Regions from separate parts of the Homo sapiens genome. Here region 1 is linked to region 2. Evidence: promoter capture Hi-C in human tissues and cell types (Jung and others, 2019). All regions are on one chromosome and are shown on one strand. Each heading gives the region's core, a stretch centred on a gene start or on the middle of the fragment in contact. The rest is flanking DNA. Distances are from core to core; before and after follow the strand shown.

Evidence for each region. The method cuts DNA at HindIII sites, captures the fragments that hold promoters and counts their contacts. A contact is called where the count stands out against the background at its distance.
Region 1: a contact is called between a fragment that was not itself captured here and the fragment with the promoter of GNG4 in region 2, in 2 of the 25 tissues and cell types used here (hippocampus and psoas muscle).

The regions. Positions count from the first base shown.
Region 1 is chr1:235,698,009-235,704,922 of GRCh38, forward strand. It overlaps LYST (lysosomal trafficking regulator), which reads right to left. Exons shown (of 53, transcript NM_000081.4): 45 at 4,739-4,969. Among named protein-coding and RNA genes, the nearest start is that of GNG4, 52 kb to the left of the region's middle. The HindIII fragment of the contact is 8,005 bases long and covers 471-6,914 here.
Region 2 is chr1:235,647,529-235,654,230 of GRCh38, forward strand. It overlaps GNG4 (G protein subunit gamma 4), which reads right to left and starts at 2,256. Exons shown (of 4, transcript NM_001098722.2): 1 at 2,134-2,256. RefSeq lists enhancers at 461-755, 3,221-4,072 and a silencer at 2,121-2,230. The HindIII fragment of the contact is 19,046 bases long and covers 1-6,702 here.

The DNA of each region.
Region 1 (6,914 bases), core at 3,223-5,722, 53 kb after region 2:
CAGTTATTAAAAAGTTTCAAAATGAAGAAGAAAAGACATGATGCCCTTTTAAAGAGTTTCCCCAAATAGTTCTATTCTTTTTGTTCTCCTTATGACTGTTTTATCCTCTACTGAACTCTTCTTTTTTAATGGATTCCCTCCTTTTATACATTTAAGAGTTTAACCCATTATTTTACTTTCAACTCTTCAGAGGAAATGCTACATAAAATAAAAATAATATATTAAGCAATTTTCAGTCATTTCTGTAAAAAACCTGATTTTTAGTGAAACTTGCTTATGTCATTTTCCAAATAAATGAAAAAAAAGGCATCACTGACGTATAGACTATCTTTTAAAAAAATCGTGCCACTTTAGGAGCTCTAATAATTCTGTCAGACTATTTAGGGGACATGTTAAATGATATCATAGTGGTCTAAAAAATGAGTATCTCTGGAAAAGCTTAAGAGCTTCAGGAATGCTCATGTGGGAACAGAGACGTTAGGGTCAGGCATTTTGAAAACAAGCTTCTAAAATTTTGTCTAACAGTGTTTTTTTGTGGCTCCCCTGTGGGATCCAAATCTATCAATATTAAAGTTGAGAAAGGCCGGGCGCGGTGGCTCAAGCCTGTAATCCCAGCACTTTGGGAGGCCGAGGCGGGCGGATCATGAAGTCAGGAGATCAAGACCATCCTGGTTAACATGGTGAAACCCTGTCTCTACTAAAAATACAAAAAAATTTAACTGGGCGTGGTGGCGGGTGCCTGCAGTCCCAGCTGCTCGGGAGGCTGAGGCAGGAGAATGGCATGAACCTGGGAGGCAGAGCTTGCAGTAAGCCGAGATCACGCCACTGCACTTCAGTCTGGGCAACAAAGCAAGACTCTGTCTCAAAAAAACAAAAACAAAAACAAAAAAAATCAACAAATAAAGTTGAGAAAAATGTGTGTGCTAAATTTTAGTTATAATTTATCATTCACAATTCCTTGCCAGGAATTCATATAAAAGGAACTTCCTTTTATATGAGTTGCAGAGTTTAAACTTCTAGTTTTTCAATGACACAGAAAGATACAAGGGCAACTGTTTTATATCATAGCATATTTATGATCATTATTCTCCTTTCTTTTTTTTACTTTAGTTCTGGGATACATGTGCAGAACGTGCAGGTTTGTTACATAGGTATACGTGTGCCATGGTGGTTTGCTGCACCTATCAACCCATCATCTAGGTTTTGTCTTGATGCTCTCTCTCCCATCCCCACCAACTCCACCGCGTGGCCCCAGGGTGTGTTTTTCCCCTCCCTGTGTCCATGTGTTCTCATTGTTCAACTCCCACTTATGAGTGAGAACAAGCGGTGTCTGGTTTTCTGTTCTTGTGTTAGTTTGCTGAGGATGAGGGCTTCCAGCTTCATCCATGTCCCTGCAAATGACATGATCTCATTATTTTTTACGGCTGCATAGTATTTCATGGTATATATTTTCTTTATCTAGTCTATCATTGATGGGCATTTGTGTTGGTTCCATGTCTTTGCTATAGTAAATAGTGCTGCAATAAACATACGAGTGCATGTGTCTTTAGAGTAGAATGATTTATATTCCTTTGAGTATATACCCAGTAATGGGATTGCTGAGTCAAATGGTACTTCTGGTTCTAGATCCTTGAGGAATTGCCACACTGTCTTCCACAAGGGTTGAACTAATTTACATTCCCACTAACGGTGTAAAAGCGTTCCTATTTCTCCACAGCCTCACCAGCATCCATTGTTCCTTGACTTTTTAATAATCGCCATTCTGATTGGTGTGAGATGGTATCTCCTTGTGGTTTTGATTTGCATTTCTCTAATGATCAGTGATCCTGAGCTTTTTTCCAACAGTAACCAAAACAGTATGATACTGGTACCAACACAGACATATAGACCAATGGAATAGAACAGAGACTTAAGAAATAACACCACACATCTACAACCATCTGATCTTCAACAAACCTGATAAGAACAAGCAATGGGGAAAGGATTCCCTATTTAATAAGTGGTGCTGGGAAAACTGGCTAGCCATATGCAGAAAACTGAAACTGGACCCCTTCCTTACACCTTATACAAAAATTAACTCAAGATGAATTAAAGACAAATGTAAAACCCAAAACCATAAAAACCTTAGAAGAAAATCTAGGCAATACCATTCAGGACATAGGCACGGGCAAAGATTTCATGACGAAAAGGCCAAAAGCAATTGCAATAAGAGCCAAAATTGACAACTGGGATCTAATTAAAGAGCTTCTGCACGTCAAAAGAGACTACCATCAGAGTGAACAAGCAACCTATAGAATGGGAGAAAATTTTTGCAATCTACCCATCTGACAAAGGTCTAATATCCAGAATCTACAAGGAACTGGTACAAATTTACAAGAAAAAAACAAACGACCTCATGAAAAAGTGGGCAAAGGATATGAACAGCCACTTCTCATAGAATATTTAAAGAGGAGTGCTTTATTGAAATGCTTTTTATACAGCTCTGATTGTTTTGAACTTCAATAGTGAACTGAAGTTCACACAAGCATACCTGGGTCATCCAGATGACCCCCTTATAAATGAGTACTGTTGCTTGGTTTCAAGGCTTGTGTTTGCATTTTGTGTAGATGTCAAGTGAAGGCCCACAGAGTCAAGAAGCAGTATGGTGTCGAAAGTTTCACCGTGGTTCAAATAAAGAAAAGCAGTGGCATAAATGTCATTACACATCACACAGAAATGCAGCAAACCAAACCTTAAAGAATTTGCATCAGAGAAGACATTAATTTAAAAAATGCTGAGTGTCTATTATATGCCCAGGACCTTCCTAGGAACTGGGGACACAGTAATGAACAAGACAGACAAAGTCCTTGTGTTTATGGAGTTACATTCTATTTGGGATGGGAGTATAGACAAATAAATAAACAAATACATATACAATATGTCAGGTGATAGAAGTGCTATACACCAAAACAAAGAAGGGGAAGGGATCTGAGGATGACGGAACAGCTGTTTTAGACATAATTAGACTTAGATATAATCAGAGCTTTTGGAAAGCATTTAAATGGGGGTCAGGGAAGACTCTGAGGAAGAGATGTCTGAGCAGAGACTTGAATGAGATGAGGGAGCAAACTGGGGATATATCTGGGGAGTGGTTATTCCAGGTGGAGCAAAGAGTCATCACAAAGGTTCTGAGGTGGGAATGAAGCAGGCTGGTACCATGTTCCCACTGCGAGCAGACATACTGCTCAGATACAACTTTAACAGCTAACGAGCAGTAAGTATAGTAGTAAATTAAATGGCATTTATTAATTTTCAGGGATGTATTGTAAAATTATGCTGACATGTTAAAGTGACAGATTGGGCTGGGTGTGGTGGCTCGCATCTGTAATCCCAGCACTTTGGGAGGCCGAGGCGGGCAGATCATGAGGCCAGGAGTTCGAGACCAGCCCGGCCAATATGGTGAAACCCCGTCTCTATTAAAAATACAAAAATTAGCTGGGTGTGGTGGCGGGCGCCTGTAATCCCAGCTACTCGGGAGGCTGAGGCAGGAGAACTGTTTGAACCCGGGAGGCAGAGGTTGCAGTGAGCCGAGATTGTGCCACTGCACTCCAGCCTGGGCGACAGAGCGAGACTCATCTCAATCAATCAATCAATCAATCAATCAAGTGACAGATTGTAGTTAAAAATAGTGACCCTGGTAATTACAGTGACTAAAGTGATTTGTGAAGCTTCAAAAACAGAAAACAAAAAATATAGTTTTCTATTATGAAACTCAACACTTGTAATTTAGTTTTAGCAAAACAACACTGTCTACCATATTAATGCTTTAAAATTGAATTTCACTGGTGGAATAAGTTTTGTTTGTATTTAACATGAACATTTGACATATGTGAGCTATGAGCGCAAATAATTTATATCCAGTGTTCTGTCTTACATAAAGTAATATTACAAGGAATAATAGTCAAAACAAGGTGTAGGTGTGTAAAAACCTTTTCCTCTTAAAATAGGTCACAGATTACTGCACTTTGAGATACACTGAGTTATTTCATCTTTAAGGTCCTTTACAACGTCTTTCCCTTACCTTTTCATTTTCTGTGATTTCCTTCTGCAAACCCTTACAGTGCTTACAATTCACATTCTACTATCTTATGCTGTTTTTATAACGAAGAATTGAGTTGAAGATTAAAATCCACTTTAGCTTTAAGGCTTGCTTGATTTTTCTATTTTGAAGTAAAAATTATACCTACTTCCTATTTTTGGAGGCAATACTTCTTATCATTACAACCTGAGGAGGCCAAAGAAATATGTAAAGTTCCCCTTAGGTATAAACCAAAACATCCGCATCACTGGTCAATCCTTTTGATTGTAGATGATAACCAAGACCATGGTATGCATGTGTACACTGGCACACCAATGCTCAAACTATTCTCTAGTCCTTCTCTTCTTGCTTGAAAAATCCTATTATGTCACTGCCCTGCGAGGCTTTCCCTGGGAATAACAATTCTCTCTGCTCCCTGAGGGAGGTTACCGTCTGAAACGATGAATTCTTTTTTCCTCTGAGCTCCCCAAAGCACTCTCTCATATCGCTAACACAGCATTTACCTCGCACAGGATTCTGCTTTCGCTGCTGCACCTGTCTTGCACTGACTGGCACACAGCTTTAGGCCAGGACCATGCTATTCATCACCTGGGAGAGTGCCTGGCATCACAAGAGTCTAATCAGGTTTTGCTGCACTCGATTGAAATCCAAATGACATACCGGATAGGTGATTTCTTTGACCTGTTCTCGGGTCTCCCTGAAAGCAAACTGCACTAGCAACCCCACAGCAGCTGGAAGCTCTCCTTCAATATTGAGCTTGGCTCCAGGTCTGCTCACATGGGCCATGTGGAACAGCTGACGGGGAGTCTGCCCGTAGGTTTTTATCATGGTTTCTAGCGCTCGTCTCTGAACTGGATCTTCAACTGCAGAGACATCCATTCCAAAATATGTCTGCAGAGTGAAAGAGTAAAGGAACAAGACATATGTAGTAAAAAGAAAGACTTGACAATAATACCAAAGGGAAAAACAACACTTTGTTTTATATTCTAGGTTATGGAAAAAATGCTTTTGTTCAGGTTAACAATCACTCATGGTCTCACTGAGATCAGAAGTATCAATGTTTCTGAATAGGTGAACAAAAACAACGTATCTTGACTGATGGTTATAATTAGTTATGTTTATAAAATTAGCTTTTAATTTAAGATCTGAGAATATCATATATGACCTGATACTAAATTATTGAAGAAGTTGCTTATCCAAAGCAATATATAGGAAAAGGCAAAAATGAAGTTAAAATACAATGCTGGTAGATAGTTGAAGAGATAATTATTTAGGTTCTAATCAATATTGGGGATAAAACCAAAAGAGCAGCAATGAAAATTCAAAGCTCTTAAATGTAAAGGGTATTATTGTACTAATAAAATTACTGCACTAAGAAGCATATTTTTTCTTAGTGTCATTATCCCGTAGAGTCAGATGGAGAGCAATGCACATTTACTTATTTCTAAAGCTGGCGGTCAGTAATTGAGTACAGATCAGCCATATTTTGTACATATCCACTTGATGGCTTAGCTTTTCGTATATTTAATCAGTCATAGTGGCTTTCATTACATATCTAGACATAACATTTCTATAAATGCCAAAATAAAATTCCAAAGATATTTCAGAAGTTAGGTCATCTTCAACTCCATTCTCCTCACCACAACTCCCAGCACCAGTGATCAAATCCTTTTTTTAAAAAAACCTTTAGGTTCAGCAGTACATGTGCAGGTTTGTTATTTGGGTAAACTTGAGTCACAGGGGTTTGTTGTACAGATGATTTCATCACCCAGGTACTAAGCCTAGTACCCAGTAGTTATTTTTTCTGATCCTCTCCCTCCTCCTATCCCTCACCCTAAAATAGGCACCAGTGTCGTTGTTCCCCTCTTTGTGTCCATGAGTTCTCATTTAGCTTCCACTTACAAGTGAGAACATGTGGTATTTGGTTTTCTGTTCCTGCATTAGTTTGCTAAGGGTAATGGCCTCCAGCTCCATACACGTTCCAACAAAGGACATGATCTTGTTCTTTTTTATGGCTGCAAAGTATTCCATGGTGTATATATACCACATTTTCTTTATCCAATCTGTCATTGATAGCCATTTAGGTTGATTCCATGTCTTTGCTATTGTGACTAGTGCTGCAGTGAACATTCATGTACATGTGTCTTTACGGTAGAATGATTTACATTCTTTTGGGTATATACCTAGTAAAGGGATTGCTGGGTAGAATAGTAGTTCTGTTTCTAGCTCTCTGAGGAATCACCACACTGCCTTCCACAGTGGTTGAACTAATTTACATTCCCTCCAACAGTGTACAAGTGTTCCCTTTTCTCCAGAACCTCGCCAGCATCTGTTATTTTTGACTTTTTAGTAATAACCATTCTGACTGGTGGGAGACGGCATCTCACTGTGGTTTTGATTTGCATTTTTCTATTGATCAGTGATATTGAGCTTTTTTTCATATGTTTGTTGGTCACACGTATGTCTTGTTTTGAAATGTGTCTGTTTATGTCCTTTGCACACTTTTTAATGAGGTTGTTTTTTTCTTATACATTTGTTTAAGTTCCTTATAGATGCTGGATATTACACCTTTGTCAGATGTACAGTTTGCAAATATTTTCTCCCATTCTGTAGGTTGTCTGTTTACTCTATTGATAGTTTTTTTTCCTGTGCAGAAGCTCTTAAGTTAGATCCCACTTGTCAATTGTTGCTCTTGTTGTGAATACTTTTTATAAACACTTATCTAAGAAAGGCCAATTGCAATGGCTACTTAATGTACTCAAAAAATCAAATAAGGATTGATACACTCCTGTAGCTAGAACTGTTTTAAAATTTATTTTAAAATAGTGCTTTTCAA
Region 2 (6,702 bases), core at 1,006-3,505:
GTGGTAGGCGTGGGTTTGGGCGTGTAGGTCTTGGGGGAAGGAGCATTGTACACATTTTACAGTGTTCCTGCCCTCCTGAGACAGCTGTGGCTCTTGCTTCCCCAGGGGTCAGGGTCCATGTTCCCACCTCATGTTGTTTATTTATTTTGAGGCCAGAGTGCAGTGGCACCATCTCAGCTCACTGCAACCTCTGCCTCCCAGGTTCAAGTGATTCTCGTGCCTCAGCCTCCCAAGTAGCTGGGATTACAGGCGTGCACCACCACGCCCGCCTAATTTTTTGCATTTTTAGTAGATACGGGGTTTCACCACGTTGGCCAGGCCGGTATCGGACTCCTGACCTCAAGTGATCTGCCTGCCTCGGCCTCTGAAAGTGCTGGGATTACAGGCGATGTTCCCACCTGATGTTCTATCATTTCAAAGAATGCACTGAATATTGGGGGACTTCAGGGACTGTCACTTTTGCTTTAAAAACTGTAAAGTGAATCTAGGAAAAGCTTTTTTTTTTTCTGGTTTCTCCACCATCAGTTTGCATGAGAAACGCCAATCATAGGACTGCTGGGAATGGCCCCTTAGCTGTGCTGTTTCTGAGCCAGGCCTACATCCTCCACTGGCTTCCTTGGGCGAATTTTAAGGCCTATGAGCACTGGAGTTGTGCATGGAGGTGGGGGCCAACAGGAAGTCCATTGTCCTAAATAGTCATTTCAGCCTAACTAACCCCATGGTGAGGCTGCTCATTAACAGGCAAGGCATCACTGTAAACCTTGCATTTGCATTTACACCTACTATTTATTAAGTGCCACAGCCATCTCTTATCATGACCGGTCACTGAGCAAACCCTACATTTCAAAAACAATCCAGTTTATAGGTCCTCTGTCTGTTTCTCCGGGCTGGAAAAGGCTTTCCATTTATCAACTTAGTTGTCCCCCCAGTCGCCTCTTGCAGGGAACAGGGCCAGATCAGATGGCGGCTGGTTCCCCTCCCCCGCCTCATACAAAAATCAGGAAAAGGAGTTGCGGGAGGAATCGAGAAGCCGGCCGCAGAGCCCAGGTCCCCCATGGCTACTGTGAGGCATTCGCCGCTGCAAATTTCCTGTCCACTGTGGGAAGCGGCACACCTCACTCATGAGCAGACGACAGGACTGGCACGTTTTAATGGAGCACACGGGCGCAGCCTAGGCGGCCTTTTGCTCCGGCTGAGAGGCACGGGCCCGGTGCCAGCATTTGACAGTCCTGGGAGGCGACGGGTAGAGGAGAGACGCGGCAGCCGCGGGGCCGGGGAGACGGTGGGAGGCCCGGCGTCCATCATCCACTTTATTACTTGATCAAACTTTAACATTTTCGGGTTTCCTAACACCTTAGCCCCAAATACTCGAAATGAAGCAAATCTTAAATTAAGGAGTCTTTCCCCACCACGCTCTGTCCTCCTCCCCACTTCACCCTCCCGCCGTTTCGCGTTATTTCCAAGGCAATTTAAAAAATCAAGCCAAACAAAGCTCCCCGGTTGCTGCCGGGCGCGCGCGGCGAACGAAGCACATTTCAGTTCAGCACCAGCCTCGGGGACAGACGCCATCAAGGAGGTGAGGAAAACCACCCTCAGCTGCGGTGGCTCCAGCGTCACCCCGAGTGCTCCCGAGGCGGCGTCTGGGCTGCTGGGGAGCCAGGAGGGCTTCCTCAGGCACTCGCCAGAAACATTTCCCCAAAGAAAACGCCCAACCAGCCACGCCATCTCCTGCCACTGAGGTCCTTTTCCACGGGGGACGTCCCCGCTGGGAAAACAGCAAACGCTCTGTGACCTACAAATGGAAGAGGGGACCCCCGAGCCCCCGCCTGCCTCATGCCGGAGGGACCGGGCGCCCCCAGCCCCGGAAGCCCCTGGACGCGCTCCGAGGGGGCTGTCCACACCCGCGCGCGGGCTTCCCCGGGGCCCGGCGGGAGGTCCCGGGAGAGGAGGCCGAGGGAACCACAGGTCTTTGTGTCGCGTGCAGCAGCAGCTGGCGGCGTGAGGACCACACCGGCGCCAGAGCCGTCTCCCTAGGTCCGGAGACTTTCACCCCGAGTTTCCCTTCCGCGTCTGGCTGCACCGGGCTGGGCTCTCCCCGCGGACACCCGGGGCTCCGGCCGGGCGCCCACTTACCCGGAGCGGGATCACGCGCGGGCTTCGTCTGCAGCGCGGTGCTCGCGGGGGGCGGCCAGGCCGAGCGGCATCGCTCCGCATCGGGGCGCGGGCCGGGCTCGGGTGCAAACGCGCGCCTCGTGCCCCTCCCGCCGCCCGCGGGGTCTCCGCGTCCCGTCACCGGCCCCGCCCCGCGCCGCGCCTCCCGCCCTGCAGGGCCCGACCACGCGGGCCTGGGGGCGCAGGCGGACCCTCCCCCGGCCCTGGACGCTGGGGGCTTCTGCTCGGCCCCCTGTGCCGTGGGGGCCCAGACTGGGGAAGGGAGAGCCGGCGACTCTGCGACCCTCGCCCCCGTTCCACGCTGGCCGCGCCCACTCCGCCGCGGGGTCTCGCCCGGGAAATCCCGCCCGCTGCCACCGACGTCACTGCTGCGTCACCGGGGCTCCCGCGCTCCCCGCCCCCGCCCCCGCCCCAGCCCGGGCCCGCGCCCCCCGCCCGCTACTCGGGCCCACGCCCCCTGTCCCAGCAAAGGGCCGCGCCCCCGCCCCGCCCCCCCGGAGCCCGCGTGGCCGGGGGACCACTGGAGGGGTCTGTGGGGCGGGGCCGGGGGGTAAATCACTGGGGGGGGGTCTGGGGGGCGCGGCGGGGGGGAGATCACTGGAGGGATCTGCGGGGCGGGGCCGGGGGGGAAATCACCGGAGGGGTCTGGGGCGGGGCCGGGGTTGCTGGAGGGGTCTGGGGACGGGGCCGCGGTCAGCGCGGGCTCCCCGAAGCCTCAGGTACCGCCCTCGCTCGGGGTGAGCTCCAGCGCCTGGGCCGTTGGGGCGCGGGCCGCTTCCCACCCTGCACCAAGGGACGCCTCGGAAGCCTCCGGCCAAGGCGGGGAACGGCGGAGAAACGCGGAATACCTGTGCGAATTCGCGCGGCCGCGTCGCCACTAACCCGGCGAAGGCTGACCCGACGTTGCTGAGTGACGGGGACCAGGGGCCGGCGAGGCCCCCACTCCGGGGGGAGCGAGGCCGGGAGGGCGGAGGGCGCGTGCTGGAGGCGGGGGTGCCCTTCGCGCCCCGGTTCTAGGAGCGACTGCTCTCCAGGCCTCGTCCCTGTGGCACCGCAGGCTTTTGCGCTGGAGATTTTAAAACACTTTAGTGATTACAGCCCTCTTCCTTTCAGGGAAAAAACAGTTTAAGCGCCGTCCATTTTCCGACTTGGTAAAATAATACGAAACCTTGGGAATAGAGAAGCAACGAAAACATTTCACGCAGTGTTGGCAAGATTTGTAGAAAAGGAGGCCAATATTAATTCCCTTTGTGAAAACAACAACATAACATCATGATGAACGATTAGGAAATATTTCGGGAAGATCTGGGCGCCTCATCCTCATCCGCCGTCCACAAGCGGTCCCTGCCACAAAGGACACAGGGCGCGCTTGTTGCTCAGATCCCTGGCCCCACTGGTTGGACCTTGCCCTACACACACGTGTACCTTCTCGGAGCCCAAGGGCCAGATTGGATGCGAACGCGGAGATCACAAAGGCCCGTAAACACGGGGCCAGCAAACACATCGGTTTTTACAAAGCTCTCAAGTGCCCATTTAAGGCACAAAATTAAACCTTGGCAAACCGACGAAGCCAGTCCATGTCCACCTCACAGACTTTTAAAAGTGAGAAAGATATATGAGTACTGCATTGAAAATTCAAGCAAATCCAAACCCTAGCTCATTGTTTTCACCCCAAAATCTTATTTCTCCTGCATTTCCTGCCCACCTCCCGCCCCCGACTGGTTGGCTAAGGCAGAATCCTAGGTTTCCTTTTATCCCAAATCCCAATCTCAATTAATCAATCACAAGGGAAATCAGTGTCTACACTTTCAAGCGCATCATTTCCTTATTTTATCTTTCTAATTGTTACACTATCATTCAAGATAGGATCATGTCAGTTTTAAACAGGAGGAAGAGGTCAGTCAACAAGTGGTTCCAGAGTGGATCCCAAGACCAGTAGAATCAGCGTGTCACCTGGGAATCTTTTAGAGATGCAGACTCCCAGGCCCCACCCAGACCTAAGGAATCAGAAACTCTGGGGGTGGGGCCCAGCAACCTGTGATTCCCCAAACCCTCCAGGTAATTCTGATTCCGTTCATCTCTGGACATCACCCAGGATAGCTGCAGTAGTGTAAAGTCTGGCACCAGGACCCTGGGTATCAGTTTTCTTTCTTCTTATTTATTTATTTTTTTTGCGGAGTGGGAGGGAGTCTCGCTCTGTCGCCCAGGCTGGAGTGCAGTGGCGCGATCTCGGCTCACTACAACCTCCTCCTCCTGGGTTCAAGCGATTCTCCTGCCTCAGCCTCCAGAGTAGCTGGGACTACAGGCGTACGCCACCATGCCCAGCTAATTTTTGTATTTTTGGTAGAGATGGGGTTTCACCGTGTTGGCCAGGATAGTCTCGATCTCTTGACCTCATGAGCTGCCCTCCTCGGCCTCCCAAGGTTTTTCTTCTTTATTCCTAGTCATATCCTTTGTTCTGAAGTCTTCTTTGTTTATATCTATATAACCACTGCAGATTTCTTACTATTAGTGTTTGCATGATATGTGTTTATATCCTTTTAATTTTTAAATCTATCTGTATCTTTTTTTTTTTTTTTTTTTTTTGAGACAGACTCTCGCTCTTGTCGCCCAGGCTGGAGTGCAATGGTGCCATCTCAGCTTACTGCAACCTCCGCCTCCCAGGTTCAAGTGATTCTCCTGCCTCAGCCTCCTGAGCAGCTGGGATTACAGGCGTCCACCACCACACCCAGCTAATTTTTGCCTTTTTAGTAGAGACCGGATTTCAACTTGTTGTCCAGGCTGGTCTCAGACTCCTGACCTCGGGTGATCCTCCCACCTCGGCCTCCCAAAGTGCTGCGATTACAGTCGTGAGTCACCACGCCCGGCCTGTATCTTTGTTCTTAAAAGTGGGATTCTCCATCTTCGTAGGCAGCACAGAGCTGGATCTGCTTTTAAAATTCAGCTTGACGATCTGTCAGCTTGACAACTAATAGTAAAAAATCCGCAGTGGTTATATAGATAAAAACAAAGAAGACTTCAGAACAAAGAATATGACTAGGGATAAAGAAGGAAAACCTTGGGAGGTCGAGGCGGGAGGATCATGAGGTCAAGAGATCGAGACTATCCTGGTCAACATGGTGAAACCCCATCTCTACTTTTAATTGGAATGTTTAGTTCATTTACTTCTTATGTAATTATCATGTGGTTGGGTTTAAAACTACCAACTTGCTATTTGTTTTCTGTTTGTCCTATTCTTCATTCCTTTTTTCCTGCCTGAGTATACTTTAGTATTCCATTTTATCTCAAGTATTGACCTTCATTTTCCTCCTCTTTCTTTGTTCTAGGGTTTATAAAATGCATCTTTAATTTACCGTCGACTACCTTCAAATAACATCATGCCACTTCTTCTTCACTATTAGATTCTTTATAGTGTGTGCTTCCATTCCCCCTCTTCCATCCTTTGTATTATTTTTGTTATATCTCCCTTTTACATAGGTAATAACCCCACAGAACATTATTTTACTTTAAGCTGTCAATTTTCTTTTGAAACATTTAGAAATGATTTTGAAAAATCTTTTATCATTTCTGATGCTCTTCATTTATTTGTGAAGATCCAGATTTCTATCTGATATCATTTCCTTCTGCCTGTAGAACATTTTTTAACCTTCTTTTGGTAATACAGATTGGCTGGTGATTGTCTGTTTTTGTTTTTCTGAATATAAGTATTTTGCCTTTGTTTTTGGAGGATTTTTTTTTTAGATTGACATCTTGAAGAAGTTTAAAGATATCATTCACTGTGCTTGCATACTTTCTCTGAAGAAATCTCCAGGCTAGGCACAGTGGCTCACGCCGGTAATCCCAGCACTTTGGGAGGCCGAGGTGGGTGGATCACCTGAGGTCAGGAGTTCGAGACCAGCCTGGCCAACATGGTGAAACCACATCTTTACTAAAAAATACAAAAAATTAGCTGAGCGTGTTTGTGGGCGCCTGTAATCCCAGCTACTCGGGAGGCTGAGGCAGGAGAATCACTTGAACCCAAGAGGCAGAGGTTGCAGTGAGCTGAGATCACACCACTGCACTCCAGCCTGGGCAACAAGAGTGAGACTCTGTCTCAAAAAAAAAAAAAAAAAAAAAAAAAAAGGAAAAGAAAAAGAAAAAAAAAAAAAAGAAATCTGCAGATCTTTATCCTTTTCCTGGATATGTAATGCGTCTCTTTTTCTATGGCTGATTGTCAAGTTTTCTATCACTGGTTTTCAACAGTGTGATTATGATGTGCCTTGATGTGGTTTTCTTTGTGTTTATGCTGCTTGGTGTTCATTGGATTTCTTGGATCTGTAGGTTTACAATTTTTATCAAAATATATCAAATTAAAAATTTTTCACCCATTATCTTGCTCTTCTCCTTCTGGGACTCCAATCACAGATATGATAGACCATTTGATATTGTGCCATAAGTGCACCACCACACCCAGCTAATTTTTGTATTTCTAGTAGATGCTGTGTTCTTTTAAAGAATAGGGACTTTGTTTTGGAAGGTGGTTATTTACAG